Regions from separate parts of the Homo sapiens genome. Here all the other regions are linked to region 2. The links are contacts of gene promoters, found by promoter capture Hi-C in blood cells and fetal thymus (Javierre and others, 2016). All regions are on one chromosome and are shown on one strand. The core of a region is centred on a gene start or on the middle of the fragment in contact, and the rest is flanking DNA. Distances in the headings are between cores, read along the strand shown. Region 1 has its middle 26 kb from the start of JDP2-AS1. Region 2 holds the start of NEK9 (NIMA related kinase 9). Region 3 holds the start of LOC124903348 (a long non-coding RNA gene). Region 4 overlaps LOC105370569 (a long non-coding RNA gene).

Evidence for each region. The method cuts DNA at HindIII sites, captures the fragments that hold promoters and counts their contacts. A CHiCAGO score of 5 or more calls a contact.
Region 1: a fragment that was not itself captured here is called in contact with the fragment with the promoter of NEK9 in region 2 in 3 of 17 cell types (monocytes, M0 macrophages and neutrophils); the score reaches 15.3 in monocytes.
Region 3: a fragment that was not itself captured here is called in contact with the fragment with the promoter of NEK9 in region 2 in 1 of 17 cell types (erythroblasts); the score reaches 6.7 in erythroblasts.
Region 4: a contact is called between a fragment that was not itself captured here and the fragment with the promoter of NEK9 in region 2, in 1 of 17 cell types (naive CD4 T cells). The highest score is 5.1, in naive CD4 T cells.

The regions. Positions count from the first base shown.
Region 1 is chr14:75,398,151-75,404,385 of GRCh38, reverse strand. No RefSeq gene overlaps it. Among named protein-coding and RNA genes, the nearest start is that of JDP2-AS1, 26 kb to the left of the region's middle. The HindIII fragment of the contact is 1,128 bases long and covers 2,457-3,584 here.
Region 2 is chr14:75,125,066-75,131,069 of GRCh38, reverse strand. NEK9 (NIMA related kinase 9) reads left to right here and starts at 4,022. Exons shown (of 22, transcript NM_033116.6): 1 at 4,022-4,367. The coding sequence starts at 4,149. RefSeq lists enhancers at 3,969-4,098, 4,109-4,158. The HindIII fragment of the contact is 1,961 bases long and covers 2,925-4,885 here.
Region 3 is chr14:74,856,884-74,863,383 of GRCh38, reverse strand. PROX2 (prospero homeobox 2) reads left to right here. Exons shown (of 6, transcript NM_001243007.2): 3 at 1-854; 4 at 4,870-4,977; 5 at 6,389-6,500. LOC124903348 (a long non-coding RNA gene) reads right to left here and starts at 4,878. Exons shown (of 2, transcript XR_007064269.1): 1 at 4,618-4,878; 2 at 3,949-4,551. The HindIII fragment of the contact is 428 bases long and covers 2,959-3,386 here.
Region 4 is chr14:74,840,590-74,846,197 of GRCh38, reverse strand. LOC105370569 (a long non-coding RNA gene) reads right to left here. Exons shown (of 2, transcript XR_944033.3): 2 at 4,179-5,597. Among named protein-coding and RNA genes, the nearest start is that of PROX2, 33 kb to the left of the region's middle. RefSeq lists an enhancer at 4,137-4,296. The HindIII fragment of the contact is 2,324 bases long and covers 1,739-4,062 here.

The DNA.
Region 1 (6,235 bases), core at 1,771-4,270, 270 kb before region 2:
TCATTTAATTAAATTTGTATTTAATTTTTGTTGTTGGTATTCCCCCAAAAATATCATGTTTCACCTCGTAGATGGCACATATCCCTATGCCAAGAGACACTGAATATTCCAAAGAACCCAATTTTGCCCCCATCAACAGCACCCTCAGAAACAAGAATTGTTAGGACTGTCTGACTTTAAATGGAATTCATGCCTCACGTTGAGTTTGAGATTATTCCATGGACTCATCTAATGGCAAAACCAACAATCTTGGTAAAATCTTATTGTTAAAAAGTAGTTTGACAGGGGCTAAGACTGGGTTACTGACCAACTCTGGCAGATGTAAGCAGAATGGGAATTTATTAACAGGATGTTGGATATTCACAAAATCATCAGGTGGACTGGAGGACCAGGGTTGAGGCCATATAGCCAAAAACAGTGCCCAAAATCATAAAATCACATGGCAGAACCTGTTCAGTAAGGAGCCACCACTGCCACCAAGCACTGGGCACCTCATCTTGCCTCACACATGCCCCTGGTACTGAACACCGGGGGCAACCACTGCTGCCCAGGTCTCGAGCCTATTGCTGAGGCTGCCTGGACCAGAGAGCCTGCCCTTCGTGGAGCCTGGTTACAGGCTGTGACCTAGCTACAAGAGAGTCTGGGAAGACAAATGTGTTATTTTGGCTTGAGTTCTATCTATTTAGATAGAAGACTCAAAATAATTATGGTCTAAACAACATAGAACTTTATTTTTTGGCCAGGCATGGCGGCTCACATCTGTAATCCCAGCACCCTGGGAGGCCAAGGCAGGTGGATCACTTGAGCCCAGGAGCTTGAGATCAGCCTAGGCAACACGGCAAGACCCTATCTTTGCAAAAATACAAAAATTAGCCAGGTGTGGTGGTGCACGCCTGTAGTCCCAGCTACTCAAGAGGCTGGGGTGGGAGGATCACTTGAGCCTGGGAGATCGAGGCTGCAGTGAGTTATGATCACGCCACCACACTCCAGCCTAGGCAAAAAAGCGAGACCCCTTTCTCAAAAAAAAAAAAAAAAAAAAAAGAAAGAGTTTTTTTTTTTCTCTATGTAAAAAAGTTTGAAGGCAAACAAAGTTGGAGCGAGACCACTCTGGAGCTCCTTCTGCACTGCCTTTGCACACTGCCTTATGGACCAATAAGGCTGCTTGGGAGCCTGCCATCAAGTCCACATTCCAGATATCAGGAAGGAGAAAAGGGTAAGAAGCAGGCCCCCTCCCTCCCTTTACAACCACTTCCTGGAAATTGCCCATATCACTTCTGTCTCAATGGTTGAAACTTGGTCGCTTGGCAACATCTGGCAGAAAAGAGTCTGGGAAATGTAGTCTTTGGCCCAGGCAGCCATGTGCCCAGCTAAACATTGAGGGTTCTCTTATTAAAGGAGAAGGGGAGAGTGGACATCTGGGGAAGCCACTGGTAGTGTTGGCCACGACAAGTTCTTAGCAATGTTTGCTTTGTGTTCTGGGATGTGAGCTCTGTTCCCCACCATGGCTCAGAAAAGTGTGTGTGTGTGAGTGGGATACTCCCCAAACACAGAAAGGGGGTTCAGAAGCTAGACCACATATATATATATGTGTGTGTGTGTGTGTGAAAATAAATTGAGAACACAAAATGGCCACTACCATTTCTTCTACTCAGTGGTAGGCTGATTTACAGACTCACACAGGATGAGAGCATTCAAATGAAGGCATTTGGCAGAGAAAGACTGGAACATGGAGCAGAAGAGATTTGGAAATAGAGTCGTTTCCATCACGCAAATCTTCATTTTATCACAGGTTTGTGGGACCAGGGCAAGAATTCAAACAACAATTCACATACCATGTATCTAAATATTTAAAAGCTATAAGTCAAGATAAGAAATTATTCAATAAAACCTGTCTTCTTCTCCTGTCTTCACAAATGAACCTCCATAACATTCTGGAAGGCCAGGTATGACTTTAGAATCCTCAGACTCTTCAGACCAGAATGCAGCAGCAGAAGGAAAGGCAGCCCCGCTCAGGGCCTGCCTGCCGTTTGTTCCAACCCTCAGCCAGGGCCCCTTCTCAAGTGCACATGCTTGACACCAGCCTGCACCTCCGGGTTCTGCCCACTGCCCAGTCCCAAGCAGCTATCCCTTGGCCACTGGCTGCACAGGCTACCTTGAGAGGGTGGACCATGGAAACAGGCCCACCCAGAACCTGGAAGTGGGCTTGGGCCATTCGGGCAGAGATTCTGGGGTCCTGAGTATGGAGCATGGGCTGGAAGGGGTGGGTGTGGGCATAGACTCTGTCTGGGCATCACCCTCAGCCCTGAGGACCCCCTCGCCCCAGGGACAAAGGGAGGCCTGCGGGGAAGGGATCTCCAAAGGGCAGGGCTTGCCTGGTCTCAGAGTGGTACTGGGTCACTTTGTCACACTGACTGGGCAGGCTTGTCCATAAAGTGAATTGAGAATAACTGGAAGCTTTTTTGAGAGTTTTCCCTATTCCATCTGGGATCTAAAGATTGCCCCTGGATTACTGACGATGCGAGAGGGATTTCTTTAGCCATGACTCTATGTTGGGGGAGATTCAGCACTAAGTACATTTCTCTTCATCTCTGGAAACAAATCCAAACTATAAAACCAAAACCAAAATAGAACAACGAAAAACAAATCCCTCTTCCTTCCCTTGACACACTCAGCCCATTTCTCTGTCGGTTTCCTTCAGCTCTGACACCCTCCAATCAGGCTCTCTCCCATCGTTCTTCTGCCTTTCCGTGCTCACTTTCCTCCCCCCGCCCTTCTTCCCTGGCTCCTGTCTTAATCCCTGCCATAGCGACAGGGAAAAAAACAACATAACACTGGGGCAGATGAGAGCTGAGTTTCAGAGCCCTACTGAGGAGCGCAGGCTAGCGGGGAACCAGGAGTTTCCATAACGAAACTGACAAGAGGAAAACCTTGAAATCTTGGAGGAGTAATGAGGAAAACCTTGGGGTTAGAGAAAGAAGAGGCCTTCCAAAAGCCCAGAGGAGGCCGAGATAAAAAGAACAAGGAAGGGCCAGGCGCAGTGGCTCACGCCTGTAATCTCAGCACTTTGGTAGGCCGAGGTGGGTGGATCATGAGGTCAGGAGTTTGAGACCAGCCTGGCCAACATGGCAAAACCCCATCTCTACTAAAAATACAGAAATTATCTGGGCGTGGTGGCATGCGCCTGTAGTCCCAGCTACTCAGGAGGCTGAGGCAGGAGAATCACTTGAACCTGGGAGGCGGAAGTTGCAATGAGATGAGATCATGCTGCTGCACTCCAGCCTGGGTGACAGAGTGAGACTCCATCTCAAAAAAACAAAAACAAAAAAGAACAAGGAGGAAGGGCTTTGGAAAGTTGGTAAAAGGTTAATCTATTTGCCCTCCATGCCACTTAGCCCCTGACCATCCCAAAACACAGAAGTCAACATCCTTGGGATGAATTATGAGCAGAGGGAGAAATTCCAGGGCAGGGGAGCAGACATCAGGAAAACTGAGATCCTTCTTCTGAAAGGACATAAAAAGTTAATATTTTTGTAAATTGGAACCCAAGCATTTCAGGCCTGGTGGGATGATAAGGGGTTAAAGCTTCCACGGAGCAAACCTAAAGTAGCTTGGAAGGGTGTGGCCCCCAATTTGATTTATTTTAGAAGCATGGAAAGCCAATGAATGTGCTTCTGGCCACAAGACAGGACAGGTGAGAAAAAAGAAAGGAAAGAGGCCTGGTTTGTGTTTCCTGGAAAGGGAGTGTCGTTACAGCTCTCCTGGGGAGCACACACACGCCTCTCGTAAATGTATATGAGCCCTGATTAGTTGGCTCCTGCTCACCACCCTAGCATGTTCCCAGTGGCTGGCTCCCTGGCGTTCTGGCACTCAGGGCTGCCAACACCTGCCAACAACAAGGAAGCTGGGTATTGGGGCTGCAGCTTTTGGAAGCTGCTTATGAAACAGATGACTAAGCCCTGGGGGCAGGGGGAGGGTGCAGCTCATGCCTAGCTCAGCGAGAACTCAATCCAAGTCAGCCTTGACCCGGTGCCAACCATGTGCCAGGCTAGTCCCTGGGGATGTGAAGATGACGAGGCATGGTCCCTGCTCCAAAGGACCAGGCATGCCCATAAAGAATTGTAATCAGAGGCATGAATCTGCAGAAGAGGAGAATACAGGGTTTGGCAGTGGACATGATTTCCCAGGGGGACAGTGATAGAGGCAAAAGAAGGGGGAAGGGGAGTTTCTCCATTCATGTAGTCAGGCTAAGAGTTTTAGCCTCTTCCTAAAGCACACACCCTCTTCCTCATGCCCTCTTAATCCAGTTAGTCTGGCTTCTGTCACCCAAGTGGCTCTCAGACTCTTTCCTCTTCTCCTGTCTTGGCTCAGGTCCTCATTTCTGGCTTTGGCCCAGGCTCTTTGCACTCAGCACTGCAGACAACTTCCTACAATTCAGGTCCAGTGGGCTTGCCCCCCTCCTTGAAGCTGTCTATTGTTTCCCATTGCCCCAGAATAAAAGCTAAGCCCCAAGGTCCTTCACATTGCAGCCCCAAGCTGCCTAAAGCCGAGGGCTCAAGGAGGCTTCAGTGTAGGTTTGACTCAATAGCACCACAATGTCATCAAAACCCCTTCTTCTTCTTGGTGTTTTCCTCTCTGCCCTCCATGGTGTTGTCTTCATGCTCAGGCAGGCTTTTCTCATGGTGAGAAAACGGCTGCCACAATTCCTGTTTTCACACCTATGCTCCATGCTGTATAGAAGGAGAAAGGGAGAGAGCTTCTTTCCCTGAACCTGCCAGCAAAGTCTTCTCCAGTCTCTCAGGTCAGAATTGGGTCATTTGCCCATCTGCAGGCAAGAAGGGATTTTGCTGATTAGTCTATACTGGGGCTATTTACCCCAAGCCTAGGCCAGGGTGGAGTCGACTTCCTCCAAAAAATATGGGAAGTGTAGGGAGGGTGGATACCCCAAGGAAAATGGGGTAGTTACTGAGAGAGAATGGATGCTGAAGAGGCCACCCTTCCAGCATCTCCTCCCGACAAGCCCCACCCAGCTACTTCTTTTTCCCAAACACGTCATGTTCTTTGGTGTCTCCCAAGCCTTTGCACATGCCTTCCCTTCACCTGGGATGGCTTTTCATTCCTCTTGCTCAGTGAATGCCTACTCATTTCTCAAATGCTTGCCCATCACTTTCCCTATTCTTTAGATACTGCAGTCAACTTAAGGACAGGTTCTTATTCACTCCTAGCATAATGCAATACCTGGCAAAAAGTAGGTGCTCAATAAATGTTTATCAAGTTAATGAACACTGCTGATGAGACAATAGCAAATCCCAAGTTCACAACAAAGAGCTAGTATGTCTTCAAAATCTCTTCCCAACATCTAAAATGTAACAAATATAAGTAGAATTGTAGTGTATAAAGCTAGGATGGGTTCAGGTAAAGAAATGTTGAGGGGCCAGAGTTTGTCCAAGCATCTCTAGCATCATCCCAGAAAAAGGGCTCCCTCCCAGGCTGGCAGGAATGTTTTAGTTCTCCTGGCAGGTTTGTAGGTCCTGAAATGGAAAGGGACCTATCAGGCTCTCATAGTCCGATCCATTAATCTTCTAACCATTTAGACTAGCCTACTGGGAAGAGATTGAAATGGTCAGCCAACTCAGGCACTCTCATCTGGCTGACAATTATAGTCTTACTGTTCTTGAATAACTTGGCCTTCTGGTTTACCAGAGAATCTGCATTTCATTAGCATGGTTTGGTCTCTGAGACCAACACTATCAGTTGCTTCCTCGCTATTTTCTTCCTTAGTCACAGAATCCCTGAATTTTAGCCAGCGACTTGGTCACCTAGAACACAGAGTACATTTCTCAGCCTCCCTTGCAGCTAGATAGGGCCATATGACTAAATCCCGACAAATGGATGTAAATAAAAGTAATATGTGTGTAACTTTTTGGAAGTGCCATGAAAAGGTGGTAGTGTGTCCTTCTTCCCTTTTCCTTTTCTGCAGGCTGGAAGGTGGTCGCACTGGCTGGAGCTGGAGCAGTCATCTTGGACTGTTGTGGAATTTGGAAATATAGCCCATGCATGGTGGACCAACAGATAGAAGGAACTTGGGTTAAATATTGCACAAAGAGCCATATCAGTAGCCCTCAAGACCTACCTAAGCATTTACATAAGAGAAATGCATTTCTCTCTCTCTCTCTCTCTTTTTTTTTTTTTTTTTTTTTTAGAGATGACGTCTCGCTTGTCTCTTAAAGTTGGGCAA
Region 2 (6,004 bases), core at 2,773-5,272:
ATTCCTAAAAGACCCCCACCCCCCACCCCCGGTATATGAATCCTCAGGACTCACTTTTTAGGCCTATCATATCCAATGCAAAACCCCACTCCAGGAGGTAAACGTCTTTTCTCCTCTCCTTTCACTTACAGTTGAACATTTTTCACAAAGCGACTTTCCAAGAGCCAATATGAAGTGCTTTGCACACCCACTGGCTGGCCTCTTATTTATCCTCTTATCTCCATTCTCCCTCAAATAAATTTTATTATGAATCCATAGTGTGTAAAGTAGTGGTTCCCATTATTGGGGTATAATTTTTTTTTCTTTTCTTTTTTTTTTTTTTTGAGACGGAGTTCACTCTTGTTGCCCAGGCTGGAGTACAATGGCATGATCTCGGCTCACCACAACCTCCGCCTTCCGGGTTCAAGCAATTCTCCTGCCTCAGCCTCCCGAGTAGCTGGGATTACAGGCATGTACCAGCACGCCCAGCTAATTTTGTATTTTTAGTAGAGATGGAGTTTCATTATGTTGGCCAGGCTGGTCTTGAACTCCCAACCTCGTGATCCACCCACCTCAGCCTCCCAAAGTGCTGGGATTACAGGCGTGAGCCACCGTGCCCGGCCCAATACATGCTTTATAAATCATTTATTTAGTCTGCTGCAGTGGTGTCTCATAAAATGTTGAGCTGCATGTATAATTTTAAATTTTCTAGTATCACATTAAAGAAGTAAAAAACAGGTAAAATTTGCTGATTCTCCAGCCTCCCGAGTAGCTGGGATTACAGGCACATGCCACCACGCCCAGGTAATTTTTGTATTTTTAGTAGAGATGGGGTTTCACCATGTTGGCCAGGATGGTCTCGAACTCCTGACCTCGTGGTCTGCTCACCTTGGCCTCCCAAAGTGCTGGAATTATAGGCATCAGCCACTGTGCCCAGCCGAAAATTATTTTTAGTAGTGTATTTAACCTAATATACCCAAAATATTATTTCAACATATAGTTAATATAAAAATGGTTAATGAGATGTTTTGCATTCCATTTTTCATATAAAATCTTGAAAATCCAGTGTGCATTTCAAGCTATACCGCATCTATAGCTTAAAATTAGACTAGCCACAATTCAAGTGTTGAGTAGCTATATGTAGCTAATGGCTACCGTGGCAGACAGTGAAGGGTATAAACTTGGGTTGGTCTTTGGTAGATTCTTTCATCTTGACAGTAACTCTATGGCCCCTGGGAATTTGCCATTCACAAATTGGAAACTAATGCAAAATAGCATTCTAACCATTCACTTGTTAAAGTACAATGTGGAAATAGTTTGGTTTCAACCAAAGGCGCTTTAAAATTTTACACCTTGGCCAGGTGCAGTGGCTCACACCTGTAATCCCAACACTTTAGCAGGCCAATCACTTGAGGTCAGGAGTTCGAGAACCAGCCTGGCCAACATGGCAGAATGCCCTCTCTACTAAAAATACAAAAATTAGCTGGGCATGGTGGCGGACGCTTGTAATCCCAGCTACTCAGGAGACTGAGGCATGAGAATCACTTGAACTTGGGAGGTGGAGGCTGCAGTGTGCTGAGATCATGCCACTGCACTCCATCCTGAGTGACAGAGTGAGACTGTCTCCAAAAAAAAAAAAAAAGTTATACCATTAGAATAAATGTTGACTATTTTTGAACTTATAAATATTCAAAGGTAAGACAATTAGTTTCAGTTATATCCAATATAATGAAGAATTCAGCAGGAATGTCTCTGCTCTATAATAGGACATGTTTCTTCTAGGCTTGTAGTATCTATGCATTATCATTAGAACAATTCAGTTTCAGGCCAACCACGTTATAGAAAACTAGTTCCTCGTTGCAAAGGTGCCAGAAAAAAATGAATTTTTAAGCTTAGGCTGAAATCTATTCAGCCTCTTTGAAAGTCAGCATTCCCAATTTTAAGTAATTGGTTTTTTCCCATTCAACTGAGAAACAATTTATTGAGCATCTTTTCTGTTTAACAGAGTTAATCGAGAATAACAGAATTAAGTTAATAGAATTAACAGATTTAAGCCAAACTAAACTCTGGAGTTTATCTAGATAAACAAGAGGCAATACCTATCCTCAAAGTGCCTTCTAATTAATAGGAGGATGTAGATGGAATGGCCTCTACCTGAAATGATCTCTCTACTTTGTTTAGACTTAACATTTTGTATATTCCTGCACTCACACAGCAAGTTTGGCTTGGACAGATGCCACTCCTAAATGCCTCTCTAGAATCTTGCACTTTAATAGCCCTTATAGAAACTGTTTTAATTGCCTGGTGGTTTTCTGTTACATGTAAGCTCTCTTAAAGTAGGAACTTTTCACAAATCGATATGACACAATGTATTTTTATGTATTTGAGACAGGTTCTCACTCTGTTGCCCAGGCTCGAGTGCAGTGGCATGATCTTGGCTCACCGCAACCTCCGCCTCCCCAGTTCAAGCAATTCTTGTGCCTCAGCGTCCCAAGTAGCTGGGATTACAGGTGTGTGCACGCCTGGCTAATTTTTGTATTTTTAGTGGACACGGGGTTTCACCATGTTGGCCAGGCTGAACTCGAACTCCAGGCTTCAAGTGATCGGCCCTCCCAAAGTGCTGGGATTACAAGTGTGAGCCACCACGCCCGGCTAGGCACATGGCTTTCTCTTAGCCCCATCACATCCTGCTTTTTCAGATTGCTGGGTTCAACTTCCCAGCTCCCTCTTACTAGGTCTGTCACATTAAGCAGGTTACTTAGGTACCTCTGTTTCTGTAAAATGGGAATGTTAGGATAATACATAATACATAATACATAGGATAATACATAATAATGTGAGATAATACGTAAAAAACCTTTAGCATAGTACCCAGAACATAACACTCAATAAATGTTAGCTGTTATGTCTGTGATGTAGACCACATTCTCACAACAAAACAAGCTTGGAGATGAGAAGTTGCCCAAGGTCACATAATTGCCCAAGGTCACATAACTGATGGAACACCTATTGTTCACCGTATTGCTGTTTTCCTACTTGACGGTAGGGAGAACATTATTGCAGATTTCCTGTTCCCAAACAGTGTGTGGCACCAAGTGCTCAAAGAATGTTTCATGATATCATATGGTCAAATATCTGGAAAAACACATAGAATAAATTGAATCTGGAAAAAGAGACGGGGGAGAAGGAAAGTGTCAGGAGAGTTGACTTAAAATATTTTTGGAGTTGTGTAGAAGAGGGAGGGACTTAGGATGGCCCTGGGAGAAAGAACTCGGCCCAGGGACCGAGATGACCGGAGGCAGACATTTAGGCTGTCTATATTATTATTATTTTTTTTTTTTTTGAGACAAAGTCTCGCTCTGTTATCCAGGCTGGAGTGTAGTGCGCGATCTCGGCTCGCTGCAACCTCCTCCTTCCGGGTTCAAGTGATTCACCTGCCTCAGCCTCTGGAGTAGCTGGGATTACAGGTGCCTGCCACCACGCCTGGCTAATTTTTGTATTTTATAGAGACGGGGTTTCACCAGTTGGTCAGGCTGGTCTCAAACGCCTGACCTCAGGTGATCCGCCCGCCTCGGCTTCCTAACATGCTGAGATTACAGGCGTGAGCCACCTTGCCCGGCCATATTATCTTTACTATACTATCTCTCTAAAAAAGAATGCTGTCCAACGTTGGAATGGGGAAGAAGGTGTACACTGGGAATGCTTCCCCAATCACCCTCTTGTCACAGACCTGACGTCAAGATGAGACTGGACGACCTCTGGGCCTCCAAGTTGTATGAGTCCGGACCGGGGAGGCAGAGAAGGGTCAATAGACCCGAGAGGCCGTACCGTCAGTGATGCCCTTGTTCCCGTGGGAGCCCTTCGGTTCCACGCGGTTCCCACCACGCGCCCGCCAACCCTAGCCCGAGGCCTCACTTTGCAGGCCTTCCCCGAAAGCGGGAAGCCTTGGCCGCTAGACTAGCCAAGAGGGTAAGCAAAGGCGGAGGAAACTCAGCCAGGCCGGAAACACAGAGAACTGTTTCCGGGTCGGGGGGCAGGAGCCACCATCGAGCTTCGCGGGGTTGCTGGGCTGACGGATCCGCGGGCCGGCATCTGAAGCGAGCGGGACGCAGCGCGGCCAGGGCCTCCGGGCATACGCAGGCTGGTCCCCAAGGCCCGCGGCCGCCGCCATGTCGGTGCTGGGCGAGTACGAGCGACACTGCGATTCCATCAACTCGGACTTTGGGAGCGAGTCCGGGGGTTGCGGGGACTCGAGTCCGGGGCCTAGCGCCAGTCAGGGGCCGCGAGCCGGCGGCGGCGCGGCGGAGCAGGAGGAACTGCACTACATCCCCATCCGCGTCCTGGGCCGCGGCGCCTTCGGGGAAGCCACGCTGTACCGCCGCACCGAGGTAGCGGCCCTCGGCGCCGGCCGCCCTGTCTGGCGCTGTCGGGTCGCCCCGAGTCCCTCCTTCTCGGCCCCGCTTTCCCAGCGTCGTGAGCTTAGTGCTTTAGGCGCCCACGGGGTATATGTCTTAGGGTCTTCACCACTCTTCCCACTCACCGGCACTAGAAATTGGCTAGATCATTGGTTTGACTAGTCATTTTTGATTGTCCTAAGTCACCTAACCGTCTCTTGAGCTTTAGTTTCCCCATCTGTAAAATGGGCTTACTGATAATACCTTGAAATCATCTTTTTCTTTTTTTTTTAAGATTATCTTGAGAATCAAACGAAGGCTCTGTTCTGTAAATTAAAGTGGTATACGAATGTGAGGTATTGCCAAAACTTCCTTCCTCTCATGCTGTATATATAGTTCTCCAAGGTCGGGGTGAGGAGGAGGGGCATAGCTTCAAAATCCCCACACCCGTGGCAACTCCGTTATTTTTGTCATTATCTTTAAGTTCAGCAGTGATCACTCAGTTGGAAGCTTTTCTTGAAGCTCATTGGGAAGATCTTTGTGTGTTGGTTCTTTATCAGTGTTTATCTTGCAGGGTTTATGCATGGGAAATACTTTGTTGGTATATTCTAAGCCATTAGTTCTTAATTTGGGGGGCACAAGGACCCCTTTGATAACCTAAGCAAAGTAATCTTGCCCCCTCCATCAACACATTTGCACATATGCACATCCTTTGGAGAGATCCATGGATCACGGAATCCCAAGTTAATATATACTAGTGTAAAACCCTGCAGTGATTATTCTACTTCCAAAAACTAACGATACACTAGATTTGATCATAAAATCTTACTTTAGGGTAAACATTTAATGAGAACTTGCTGGGGTTGCTGAAGGTGATTCATCCGTCGGAAATCCATCTGCAGTTCTGGTGTGTGTTCCAAGCCAGCATACTTTTAAGGCTGAAAGATGGAGAAGGAGAGAAGTGGTTGCAAGAGAATATTTTTAAGTGTTCTTTTTTATCCTGATGCCACGTTAATGTATGATGTTAGAGTTAGTTATTCTTAGTAGTCTGTTTTCTTTTTTGCACTCAAAATGAGAAAGAGGAGATAAGGATTGTTATTTCTATATTTTAGTTAGAGAAACTAAAACAGTATACTTAAGTGACTTGCTCACTTAAGTTACAAGTAAATCTTGGACTAGAACTAAAGTCTCACATCTTGCCCATTGCCTTTTTATTATTATCCTGTTGAACTTGATTACTGGGTTGGTTTTGAGTTAAATTTGATTACACTTCCCAAAAATTGCATAGCGTTGTCCATATCACCAAATATTTATTAGATCTGTGAATTTACAAAAGTTCAGAAGCACTCTTTTTCTCTAGAAGCTTATATTTCAGTAGGAAAATAAGTTGACCATTGTTAGTAAACAAATAGCATTAAGTTGCATATGTAGAGATATGAAAAGAATGAACAAATATCATTTCAGTGTATGGGGTCTAAAAATTAAAGACATGGTTACAGTAAAAGCTTCATCAGAGTCTTTTCAAAAACACTGTAAAGGCTTGGCAGAGGCATTCAAAAGGATGGGGAGGGTTACATAGGTGGAGATGCTCCTGGGCTAGGAAGCAGGGTCAGCAAAGAATGAGGCGAGGC
Region 3 (6,500 bases), core at 1,923-4,422, 270 kb after region 2:
TACAGGCTGCCAAGCCCAGGGACACAGCTCAGGGGCCAGGAGGCTGTGGCACGGGGAAAGGCCCTCTGAGTGCAAAGCAGGGGAATGGCTGTGGGCCTCGCCCCTGGGTTGTGGACGGTGACCACCAGCAAGGTACCAGCAAGGACCTCTCTGGGGCAGAAAAACACCAAGAGTCTGAGAAGCCCAGTTTCCTTCCTTCTGGAGCACCAGCTTCACTAGAGATTCTGAGGAAAGAGCTGACCAGGGCAGTGTCCCAGGCTGTGGACTCGGTATTACAAAAGGTACTATTGGATCCACCAGGCCACCTGACTCAGCTGGGCAGAAGCTTCCAGGGGCAGGTGGCAGAGGGTAGAAGCGAGCCCTCACCTCCTGTGGGAGGGGCCTGTAAAGATCCACTTGCTTTGGCTGCCTTGCCCAGGAGGGTCCAGCTACAAGCTGGGGTCCCAGTAGGAAATTTATCACTGGCCAAGCGTCTAGATTCTCCTAGGTACCCTATCCCTCCAAGAATGACCCCCAAACCCTGTCAGGATCCCCCAGCAAACTTTCCCTTGACTGCACCTTCCCACATCCAGGAAAATCAGATTCTTAGCCAGCTACTGGGTCATAGATACAACAATGGCCATTGGAGTAGCAGTCCTCCCCAGGACTCATCTTCCCAGAGGCACCCCTCCTCAGAGCCTGCCCTACGACCTTGGAGAACTACTAAGCCGCAACCATTGGTCCTGAGCCAGCAGCAGTGTCCCTTGCCTTTCACCTCTGCCCATCTGGAAAGTCTACCCCTTCTTCCCTCGGTGAAGATGGAACAGAGAGGCCTGCATGCTGTCATGGAGGCACTGCCTTTCTCTTTGGTCCACATATCCTTTAATAGCAATTGAAGTTCTCATTGTTGGCCAGGTGCAGTGTGGCTCATGCTTGTAATCCCAGTGCTTTGGGAGGCCAAGGTGGGAGGATTACTTGAGGACAGGTGTTCAAGACTAGCCTGCACAACATAGCTAGACCCCATCTCTAAAAATAAAAAATTATCTGCACATGATGGCCCATGCCTGTAGTCCTACTCAGGAGGCTGAGGCAGGAGGATTGCTTGAGCCCGGGAGTTCGAGGTTACAGTGAGCTATGATTGCACCACTGCACTCCAGCTGGGCAACAGAGAGAGACAATGTTTCAATAAATAATTTAAAATACCATTGACACTGTGCAGAGAAACAAGAAAACTAAAAGTTGAAGAGGAGCTGGGGACAGATCACTCAGGGTCTTCTTAATGTTGCTCTGGGCCTTCAGCTTATAGTGGTGACCACATTCTGGAATTTAAGGACCTGGGAAGGTTCACTTAGCTTCTTCTATGACCCATCGGGTTCTGCCACTTGACTTATTCCTTTGGGTCTAAAAGGGTTTTGTTTTGAGACTCAAATAGGCTTCTGAAATACAATGAATACCCTAAGGAAGAAAGAATCCATAATTTGGTTGTCAGCCACCCATAAACTTAGGAGGAGAGGGTCAAAGGAATGACGTCATCTAAGGTATGGCCTCCCCAACCCCATAGCTCTACAAGCAAAAATCCTATATTGTGTAGATAATTCCTGGGGAGCAGATGAGGAACAAGAAACTTCTGGGCCAAATGGAAAAGGAGTTTTCCTCGGGGATTAAACCCAGAGAGGTGGCTGGAAACGGCCAGAGGTCTCCAGTTTAAGGAACAACTTCCAAGGTGCAATGGAGTGCCTGGAGACTAGGGGCTGGGCATATGAAGGGAGAGGAGGCTCCCCATGAGGAGGCCTGAGTGGCCCAGGCTGATCTGCAGGGCTCTGGATCTTATTGCATCATCTTTGCAACCCTTAAGTAGACACTACTCTCTTAATGTATTTCCCAGAGTAACCCTCGGGATATTAATAATTGTTGAGTTAGAAGAAAAAGTACCTTGGGGAAATACTGAGATAGTTTCTTTTCTGCAGGAATTCTCAGAGCCTTTAACATGAGTAAATGGAAGCTCTAAGAGGAGAATGTACACAGCCCCAAACCCATATGACCACTTCTAACAAGCATCTTGCAGAACTTAAGTTCTTGAGAATATATTTTGGATGTTGCTTTTTAAGCTAGCTGTGCTCACGCTGCTGCTTCTTGTGTGCAGCTTTGAGGGGAATCTCCAGAAGCTGATGAGTCTATGGAGTTGCATATCCAGGTGGGAACAGTCGTGTCCTTTGCCTGGCAACTACTGTGAGGGCAGCAGGATGGGGTGGGACCAGCTCATTACCATGCCAGAACCTGCCTTTGTGTCCTAAATGCCATGAGCGCCCCCTGCCGGTCAAAAGTGTTGGAAACACCCCAAAGCTTTCCTGGAAGTTAGCGAGCAACTGTAAAACCAATGCTGAGAACACTTCACTTGCCACCACTCTTGGAGGCAGAGATTCCACCATAGACAGATTTTCTTTATAAGAAAGGCTACCTGTCTGGGCCTTTGATAACCACTAGTTGACTCTCCATTAAATTCAGACAGCTGCAAAAACACCTCAGTCTCCCAGAATTTGCTATTTGTTGAGCACCTACATGTGCCTGTTCCTGCCCCCTAAATTGGGGATTGGGCTCAGAGAGCTTCTGGAGGTTTGGGGCCTATCCTAAGAAATACCTAAGCCAGGACTGGCTGCATGGGTGAAGTACTTGACTATCTTTGGAATGACTTGGGACCCCCTAGCAGCACCCTGGCCCCTCAACTCTTCCCTCATTCCTGCTGCCTATATTCCAAGAGATTTATTCCTGTGGGCCATGAAAGCCACCTGAGAGCAAGCTGCTTTACAGCATAAAAAGAACGTTCACATTCACATGACATCCTGTGACATAGGTAGGGCAGATGTGAAGATCACGAGGGGAGCATTGACAGAACACCTTCTCGGTGGCAGGCATTGCTACCAGCACTTCACACATATGTGCCCACCACCACTTAGCTACAATTCTGAAACCCATAAAGCTTTGACAGGCCCTATGATTTTCCCCCCCTAAGAATGATGCAATCTTTTTTTTTTGGTAGCAAAACCTGGCTTGCACTGATTGGAGGCTATTAATAGATTTTATCCCACTTAGTATAGTCATACGTTCTGCTGCAGAAATGTTAATGTATTGGATTATACACTGTCTCAGCTGTGGATGTTAATTAATGTGTGGTACACACATCGTATTATCTTTATAAGCTAACAAATTCTGAAATCCAAACTCCATTTGGCTCAGCATTTCAGATAACGGGTTTAGACCTGTATTATCTCACCGTTCTCAAGCATCCACTCTAAGATCGGGTATCCGAGAAGCAGAGACAGAGAAGGGAGCTAACTCGTCCAAAGTCCCAAGACACACTAATGAGCAACCAGGATTTAAACCCGGGATCTGATGGCCAAGTACAAGCTTTAACCACTATACTCCACATCTTAGCAATGAGGCTCAGAGCAGTTAAGTGGCTTGCCCAAGGTCACACAGCTAATAGATGGCAAAATCAGTGTCTGAAACTGGGTCTTTGGAATCCCAATCCAGGATTCTCTCCACAGCATTTGTGGATCTGTAGGAAGGGTAAGTAGGGGCTGATGGGGCAGCAGGGAGGGATCTCCTGTGCAGCAACTAGGTGCCTGGGCCACCTATAACCATAGTCAGTTGGTCTGGTTTCTTTTGGTTAAACAGATTCATCCTATGTGGAAGTCTTCACTGTCTTAAGCTACAGCTCTCGGATCTGAGATCCCAGGTTACTCTGTGTAATGCTTCTCACCCAGCCTAAGGACTGTCCCTAAAAATGCAAAGCGTATTTGTGTAAATCTTTTTTTCATTTCCGTCCTGCCCTAGTGCTAGGCAGTCACATCACAATTCTCCGACTCTTGTTAAAGGGGAAGGAATCTGTCTGTTCCCAGAGTGAGGTATAGTTTGGAATCTAATTTCCATATATGTGTATGGATTAAGGTTGACCGTTCACTCACTTACTCCTTCACACAACAAATATTTATTGAGCACCTGCTATGTTCCTAGCACTGGGCTAGGCACAAAGATGAAAAGATAAGGTCCTCACTCTCAAGGAGCTCACAGTCTAGACGAGACAAACATACAGTAAAAATTCCAATAAGGTCATCGCTGCAACAGTTTGTACAAAGAGTCTTCATAGCCCAGGGTAAGGAAGGCCTAATTTGGCAAGGAAGGGTTTAACAGAGGTGGGAGCTTCTGAGCTGAGACCTGAAAGATGAGGGATAGTTCTGCCAGGCAAATGGAGAGTGGGTACCACCCAACCATTCAAGCTTCTTGAGCAAGAGCAAAATATGAGCTGGTATTCAGCCTGCTTAGATGTTTGCTGGTTATAAAGGCAACACTGTGAAGGCAATGATAAGAGTGACAGCCAGAATGGGGACCACCTAGTTTACTCTTCTCGTTTTACAGCTGAGGAAACTGAGGCAGAGAGGGGAAGTAAATCTCTGCTTGGGGTTTTGAAATGGTTTATCTGGGATAGAATTGCCATCTCTTCCCATCCCACTTGGACACCACACACACACACACACACACACACACACACACACACACACACAATACACCAACCTGTATTTGACATCTAAGACACCACACACACACACACACACACACACACACACAAAATACACCAACCTGTATTTGACATCATCTATGCTACATAACTTTTCCACATCGAGATGATTTTTACATTCTGTGACTTAACTGTGCACATATGTCATCCAGCTTATTTGACCAGAGTTTCCAGAGACAGAAAAATGGAGCAAATACACAATTCCAATCAGAAAAACAAAATGAAATCAAATAGAAACCACAGGAACAAGGAATTCACTAGTTAATTGATAAACTGGCATTTTAAAGTGTTCATTTTCCTTGACACTGAGATAAATCCAGGAGGGTCTAAACCCTGGTCACTTGAAGAAGGCCAAACTAATGTTTTTCTTCACACGATATCCCAGCTCCAACCTCCTGAAGGTTTATTTTCCTGATGTTCAGGTAAAGTCACTCAACTAAATGGCAGCTTCTGCAGAACTCCCAAGAGGCAGTGTGTTTTGCCTGGTGTGAGGCAAGTCCTAGGTCATCATATGTGCACTTCAAGCTCCCCTTAGTGTTGCTGATGGAAGCAATGTCCAGTTCTGGGCTGAGACTCTACCCAAATAACCGTGAATAACTTTAGGCTAGAAAGGCTGGCTGTCTAAATTCTTAAGCTACTGAGCTGTAGATAATCCCCAAAACAGAAACACATGGGCAGGAAAAGTAGAGGGAAACAGAAACACTAGTTAGTGGCCTTTTTGGCTAGTTTTCTGCCTTGGCTGGGGACACTATGAAAAATAAAATATAGGCCAGGCACAGTGGCTCATGCCTCTAATCCCAGCACTTTGGGAGGCCGAGGTGGGCAGATGACCTGAGGTCAGGAGTTCGAGACCAGCCTGACCAACATGGTAAAACCCCATGTCTACTAAAAATACAAAAACTAGCTGGCGTGGTGGCGTGCGCCTGTAATCCCAGCTACTCGGAGGCTGAGGCAGGAGAATCACTTGAACCCAGGAGGTGGATGTTGCAGTGAACAGAGATCACGCCACTGCACTCCAGCCTGGGCGACAAAGCGAGACTACATCTCAAAAAAAAAAAAACACACAAAAACAAACAAACAAACAACAAAAAATATATATAGAGAGGGAGAGAGAGACAGAGTGTCAGACACTGTCAAATTTATGTTCAAATTGCTATAGTTCAAAACTGAGTGAAAGTACATACAGATGAAGTGTGACAATAAGGAAAATCAAACTAATTGTTGGGACCAGACCTCCCCTGTTCCCATAAAAGGTTTCTGAGGGCCTCTTTTACTTTGGGTGTTGGGTTAGGGGCTGTTAATACTTTTGGTCTACATCATTCAAGCTTTTCTTTCCCTCATATTCAGTTGGTTGGTTGATCCCTGAAGCAACCTCTGATTTTGATTTCAATTCATTCCACAATTCAAAGTTGCTAATAAACTGCTCCCTGACCTACATCTTGCCCTTCCCTTGGCCCTTTATCCAAGTGGAAGGCCCCAGGCCTGCCATGCAGTCCACCTGGGTGCAGCAAAATCTGGCACCACACTGGTCGTGACCCCTAAGTCCCACTCAAACACCACAAAAAGCTTTTCATGGGTAAAACAACCCCCATAAATCTAGCATATCAAAAAAAAGTTATGTTCTAATGGGCACTGTAGCTAATTTAGATTTTTCTGAGTATAACTAAATAGGCTTGGAAAATAGCGGTGGCTTCGCTTCTTTTTTTAAAGGAAGCCCCTGTTAATGCTGGTTAAAGCCGTATATGAACCCCTATACTGAGCTGGAAGCAGACAGTTCTAATTCTGAGCACCTCGTGGCAAATGTCTGACTGGATGGACCTCTTGTTTGTACAGTTCAACCGCTGCATTACCTCCCAGATGATCAAGTGGTTCAGCAACTTTCGTGAGTTTTATTACATCCAAATGGAAAAATCTGCCCGGCAAGCAATTTCAGATGGTGTCACAA
Region 4 (5,608 bases), core at 1,651-4,150, 280 kb after region 2:
TTTTCTTTTGCACATTTAAAGAGTTTCATTAACAAGTATCCTTCCAACAACTGTATCTTCCACACCTGCAAAGTTAACCAACAGACCAGGGCCTTCGAAAGTTTTGCTTAATGAACCTATCATCAGCTAGAGATGAAATAAAATTTAAAATCCCCTTTACCCCACCAGTTCTCAAAGTTGGCTGCATATTAGAATGACCTGGTGGCCTTTTAAAAAATTACCAAGGCCTGGGTCCCACTCCTAGATTCTGATTTAATTGCTATGAGGTGTAGCCTGAGCTTTGGGAGTTTTAAAAGCTCCCCAGGTCAAAACCACCACTTGAGTGCACAACTCTTCACACTTTTCATATTTTATCATTCTTCCAAAAATGCATACATACAGAAAGGAGTAATCATCTATTCGAGTGTTTATGGAATCTAAGCAATCATTCCACCAGAACCTTACCAATCCAGGGGTTAAGGCCTCCAATGTCAGTCAATAGCCTTCCCTCTGGCCCCTGAAAATAAACACTGGGAATGCTGCCTTTCAGGTCTAGTAGAGGCCCTGCCAATGCACTCAGTTTCATATCTAGTGAATACAGAAGGCTCAGGTGAGAAACAGAAAATCCTCAAAGTATGTTCTTTTAATAAAAGCTTTACTACCTAAACAAATAAACTAGATCCTATTAAGAAAAGTGGGTGTTCCAGACTTCATTTTTTTTTTTGAAAATACAAAAACTGTATTTTCCGGGATCATTCAAACTTGTATGAAAAGAAGAGGTATGATGTAAGAAAATATTTTCACAGCACCTCTGGATCCAAGTTGTCATAATTCCAAAGGGAGCAGAGAATGACTTGGAAAAAAGAACTTCATGATTAAAGATTATTTCCTCAATTGACATTTTACCTTCCCCAAGATTGAAACAGCACCTATTCCAAAAGCAAACTGGTTATGAACTATCACTACCACTTAGAACCTATTTTGCTTATCCATATCAATTCCAAATCTAGATTCAAAAGGCAGAATTCAAATGAGTACAGCATATAAAACTGGAATTTTAAAATGAGAAAAAAAATTTTGAAACCCCCAATATTAAATTAAGACTGTTTCTAAAACACACATGTAGATAATTATTAGGAGAAAATAAAAAGAGAAATGGTTTCCCTGTAGCCCAGTAATTCAATTCTTCTGTATCTTCCCCAGGGAAGATTTTTGAAAATAAGCCTGCAAAAGGCATTTACAAGGATGTTCAATGCAACACTGGTATGACAGTGAAAAACTCACAAAAAAAGGAAAAAGTAAGCCATTATACACATATCATGGAATATACACAAACATGAATGCATGTATTTATATCTACCTATATATATATTTACCTATATATACATATATACATGCATGTGTGTATCCAAGACATAGTAGGTCTGCAGAACAGTATGTAAAGAATATCAGTCATGTAAAAAACAGTAAAACTGTATTTTTATAGGCAAGTACATATGTATACAAATACACACAAAAAGGTTTGGAAAAGCCACACTCCAAAATAATAGTAATTACCTCTAAGATTCAAGGTATTTGTGCTTAAGGGGGAGGGGGGAGTGTTGAGCTTTATCTGTAATATTTTATTTTTTTAATAATGAAAATGAATTCACATCTTCTGGATAGAATATATGAATTTGAAAAAGACGATGCCCAGAAACACTTCAATAAATTAAACATAATTATACCCACCTTGACTGTGACAGGTCCCAACAAAGCTTTAATGACACACATCCTCTTTCCTCAGTGGAAACAGCAGAAAGCAGTGGAGGGTTTAGAGCAGAAAATTCGGATCAAATTTGCATCCAGGTATAGTGGCCATTCAACTGCTCCACTTAACCAAAGGGAATTCTCACTGTCTTCTTTTCCTGGGATAGATGTGTGCCCACTATTTAACTGTATATACACAAGGTGCTTACCTGCAACTTGAGAAATGGAGGTACTGGAAGGATGTCACTCAAAAGGGGTAGCGGGGAGACAATATTCATGCTTCCATGTGAAAGCCAACAATGGACAAAAATCAACCCACCGCAAATTCAGCATCAGTATATTACATATGTATTGCCACTTCGCTCAATGAAGACAGAAATGCTTTTCCAAAATACTAGTAAAAAGGTGCTGCTCAAAATATTTATATGTAATAAAACCTGATGTTTCCTTTCTTACAAATATCTTCTTTGCCATAACTGTCTTTCAGACTTGTCATCATCCTTTAGAGCATGTCAGAAAAGTCCCAAAATGACAGCCTATTGGTAACATGTGGCTTCCAGATGTGATTTGTTTCTACTGTGACTATTTCACATAAAAATGCAGACTTCCACTTTATCTTCATCTAGTAACATTGGGTCTGTCTTTCTTCATTCCAACCACTGGCTGGAGAATTGTCCCCTGAGACAGGACAAGCACTCTGCACCATCCCAGCCTCCACCATACCCTACTGCTTCCTGAACCCTGAGGCTGAGAGGGCCAAGTACCCTGTTTTATTCTGCTTCTGCTGTTGTTTTTCTCACAGTAAAGAAAAAATAATACTGTACTTATGTCTCTACCAAAGGTGGGAAAACTAAGAGAGTGCCAAAAGTTTTGAGAATGAGAAACAGGGTATTTTTCTATAAGAGTGAAGAATATTCCCACATGTCTAATCTGCAAACAAAGTAAGTTTCTGTTGAAAGAATAAAACTAAATATATTATGAAATTACTGGCCAATTCTCTCATTTACACTTATCTTCCTGTCCTTTGAAGGCATTTGAATGTGCTACGCCTTAAGTATTGATATGCCACCAGCTGGAAGATACAGAGGTAGGGAAAAAGCAAACACAAGAATTGGTTTTATAAATTATACATATATGAACCTACATGAATTAATTTTATACTTAAAAATCACCAGGTCATCAATTCTAAATATACTTCTTGAGTAGCAACTATATGTAACAGATACTGCATATTATGTGTTACAAGGATGGAAGATGAGTAAAACATAATTCTCACCTTCTAGGAGCTTGTATGTAAGTGGGTAAGGATGGGGGGGAAGGATATATAAGTTACTCTACTAGAAAGGCAAATTAAGAGAAGATGGTAGGACATGTACAAACAAAGCCTGTGAGAGCTGGGAGGGAACAAGATGAGGAACAGATTCAGGGACGCAGTACCATGTGAGCTGGGCCTTTGGACAGTTTCTCCCACCACCGATCTTTTTTTTGAGATGGAGTCTTGCTCTGTCACCCAGGTTGGAGTGCAGTGGTGTAATCTTGGGTCACTGCCTCCTGGGTTCAAGTGATTCTCCTGGCTCAGCCTCCCGAGTAGCTGAAAATTTTTATATTTTTAGTAGAGATGGGGTTTCACCATGTTGTCCAGGCTGGTCTCAAACTCCTGACCTTGCATGATCCACCTGCCTCGGCCTCTCAAAATGCTGGGATTACAGGCATGAGCCACCGTGCCTGGCTTTTTTTTTTTTTTTTTTTTTTTGAGATGAGGTCTCACACCCTGTTGCCCAGGGTGGACAGCAGTATCAGCTCACTGCAGCCGACATTTTTGTTGCCCAGGCTGGTCTCTAATTCCTGGGCTCAAGTGATCTGCCTGCCTCAGCTTCCCAAAGTGCTAGGATTACAAGTGTGAACCACTGTGCCCAGCCAATAATGCTAATATCTAAAGGATGAGAAAAGCAAGGCAGAAACAATAGAAACCCCAGGGAATAAGTCACACAGTGTGGCTGCAGTGTAGTGCACATGTAGTAAGGACAGCTCAAGAGGAATCTGGAGAAGTAGCTGGGATCATGTTACTGATAGACTTTAACGCCAAGTTGATGAATTTGTCCTTAAAAAGATTAGGAATGGAGCGCTACCGAGTGAAGCAGGTAAGATGCTCATCACTGGGTGAAAGCAAATGGACTAGTTACATAAGAAATTACAAATTAAAGAAAACAAAATTATTAATAGTTCTGTAAGCTATTTGCATAACAATACACAAATGATTTTCTCTACTTTGTGGAGAAAACTCCACTGCTCTTGTACAATCACTGAATCCAATACTCTGTTAATTTTCAAGCTTCTGTTATTCATGAGAATTACCCAACCAAGTAGTAAGTGTTTAAGAGGGATCCTAGGTGTATAGCTACCTTATACATGAGAGTTTAAGGAAGTTGGTTTCAGAAGTAATCACATTGTTCCTGATAGTCATATCAGAATGTATTTCCAGGTCCACAGAGTTTAGTAAATACACACATGTCCACTTGCACACGACACACAAAATAAAGGAGAATTCACCATCCTAGAATTTATGAAGGTCTTCATAAAGGAGGTATTGTAGTTAAGAAAAAAGAAAGTGACAGGTTATGGACCAGGAAACCCAAATTCTAGTCTTGTTTTGCCACTGAGTAACAGTGAGACTTTGAGCAAGTCACTTCCCTTCTTTCGGTCTCAGAAACCTCATCTGTAAAACAAGAAGGATCTCACCAGAACCAACTCTAAGGTCTAACCACTTCTCTAAATATCAAAGGTTTCAAGCCGGCAGTCCACAAGTCAGATGTGGCAGGCAGGCTGTGAGGGCCAAAGCACTCACAAACAAAAAGAACCTGATGCTGAAATACTGGAAGATCTCACATAAAAATCCAGATTTTTCACTTTTTCTTGAAAACCCAGGAAATCTGGCAATATGAGACCTATATCCCCACATGGCCACAATCTGCTATGGCTGAGCAGGTGCTGCCCCCGATTGACCTGACCTATCTAGTTGTCTAGTTTACCAGTCTCCACCCTCTGCCTTGCTCATCTGTTACCTGCCTGAGTCTGTGACCCTTGCCATACACATAGGAAACATTCCCTGTATTTACTCACTCTACAGATATATGAGCCATGCACTGAGCCAGATGCTGTAAAAGAAATAAGCATCAGACATATCTACTTGAGAAATACAAACTCACTGTCAGAAATAACAGATCTGAGAGTGGAATTTCAAGTTATGGCAGAAGATATTATTTCAATTTTTCAAATATGGTTAAGAGATGGATCTGTAGCCTAGATCAGTATTTTCAGGAAAAGGAGTACGAATATTTGGTAAAAAGTTCAAGCTTCTTAAGTAGAAGACACAAAGTCAAGCCTTTCCCTATACAGTAAACCATTAAGTCCACAGGCTCTTTGTAGGATCACAAATGCAAGGCACTGCTGGCAGGCAGAGGGCTGTACATGAATGCAGAAGCTCAGCCCCAGTCATAAAGATGCTCCTTGACTATTTCAAATGTGAAAGCAATGGACCTGAAAACTGAGAATGGATCAGTCACTGAGGTGCACGTGCATATAAATATCCAGGTTCTGAGAACAGTGACCTAAGGTATTAACTCTCAGTCACGTGTGGACCAGGGGATCATCAGAGTCTCTGACCATTCTGGTTCTCTAAGACACATCATGGTTCTTTGCTTTGTCAGTCTCCTATCATGCAGAATTTTCCAGGAAACAAGATGTGCCTTCGTCATCTCATTACTGTCATACTGTCTTGAGAGTTCACCGCTGTGCTGTGCTGGTCCTTAAGTGCTTGTCATCCTTTGAGTATGTCTATGAAATGGTGCCATCGGTATTTTCCTTCATTGCTAGAAATCAG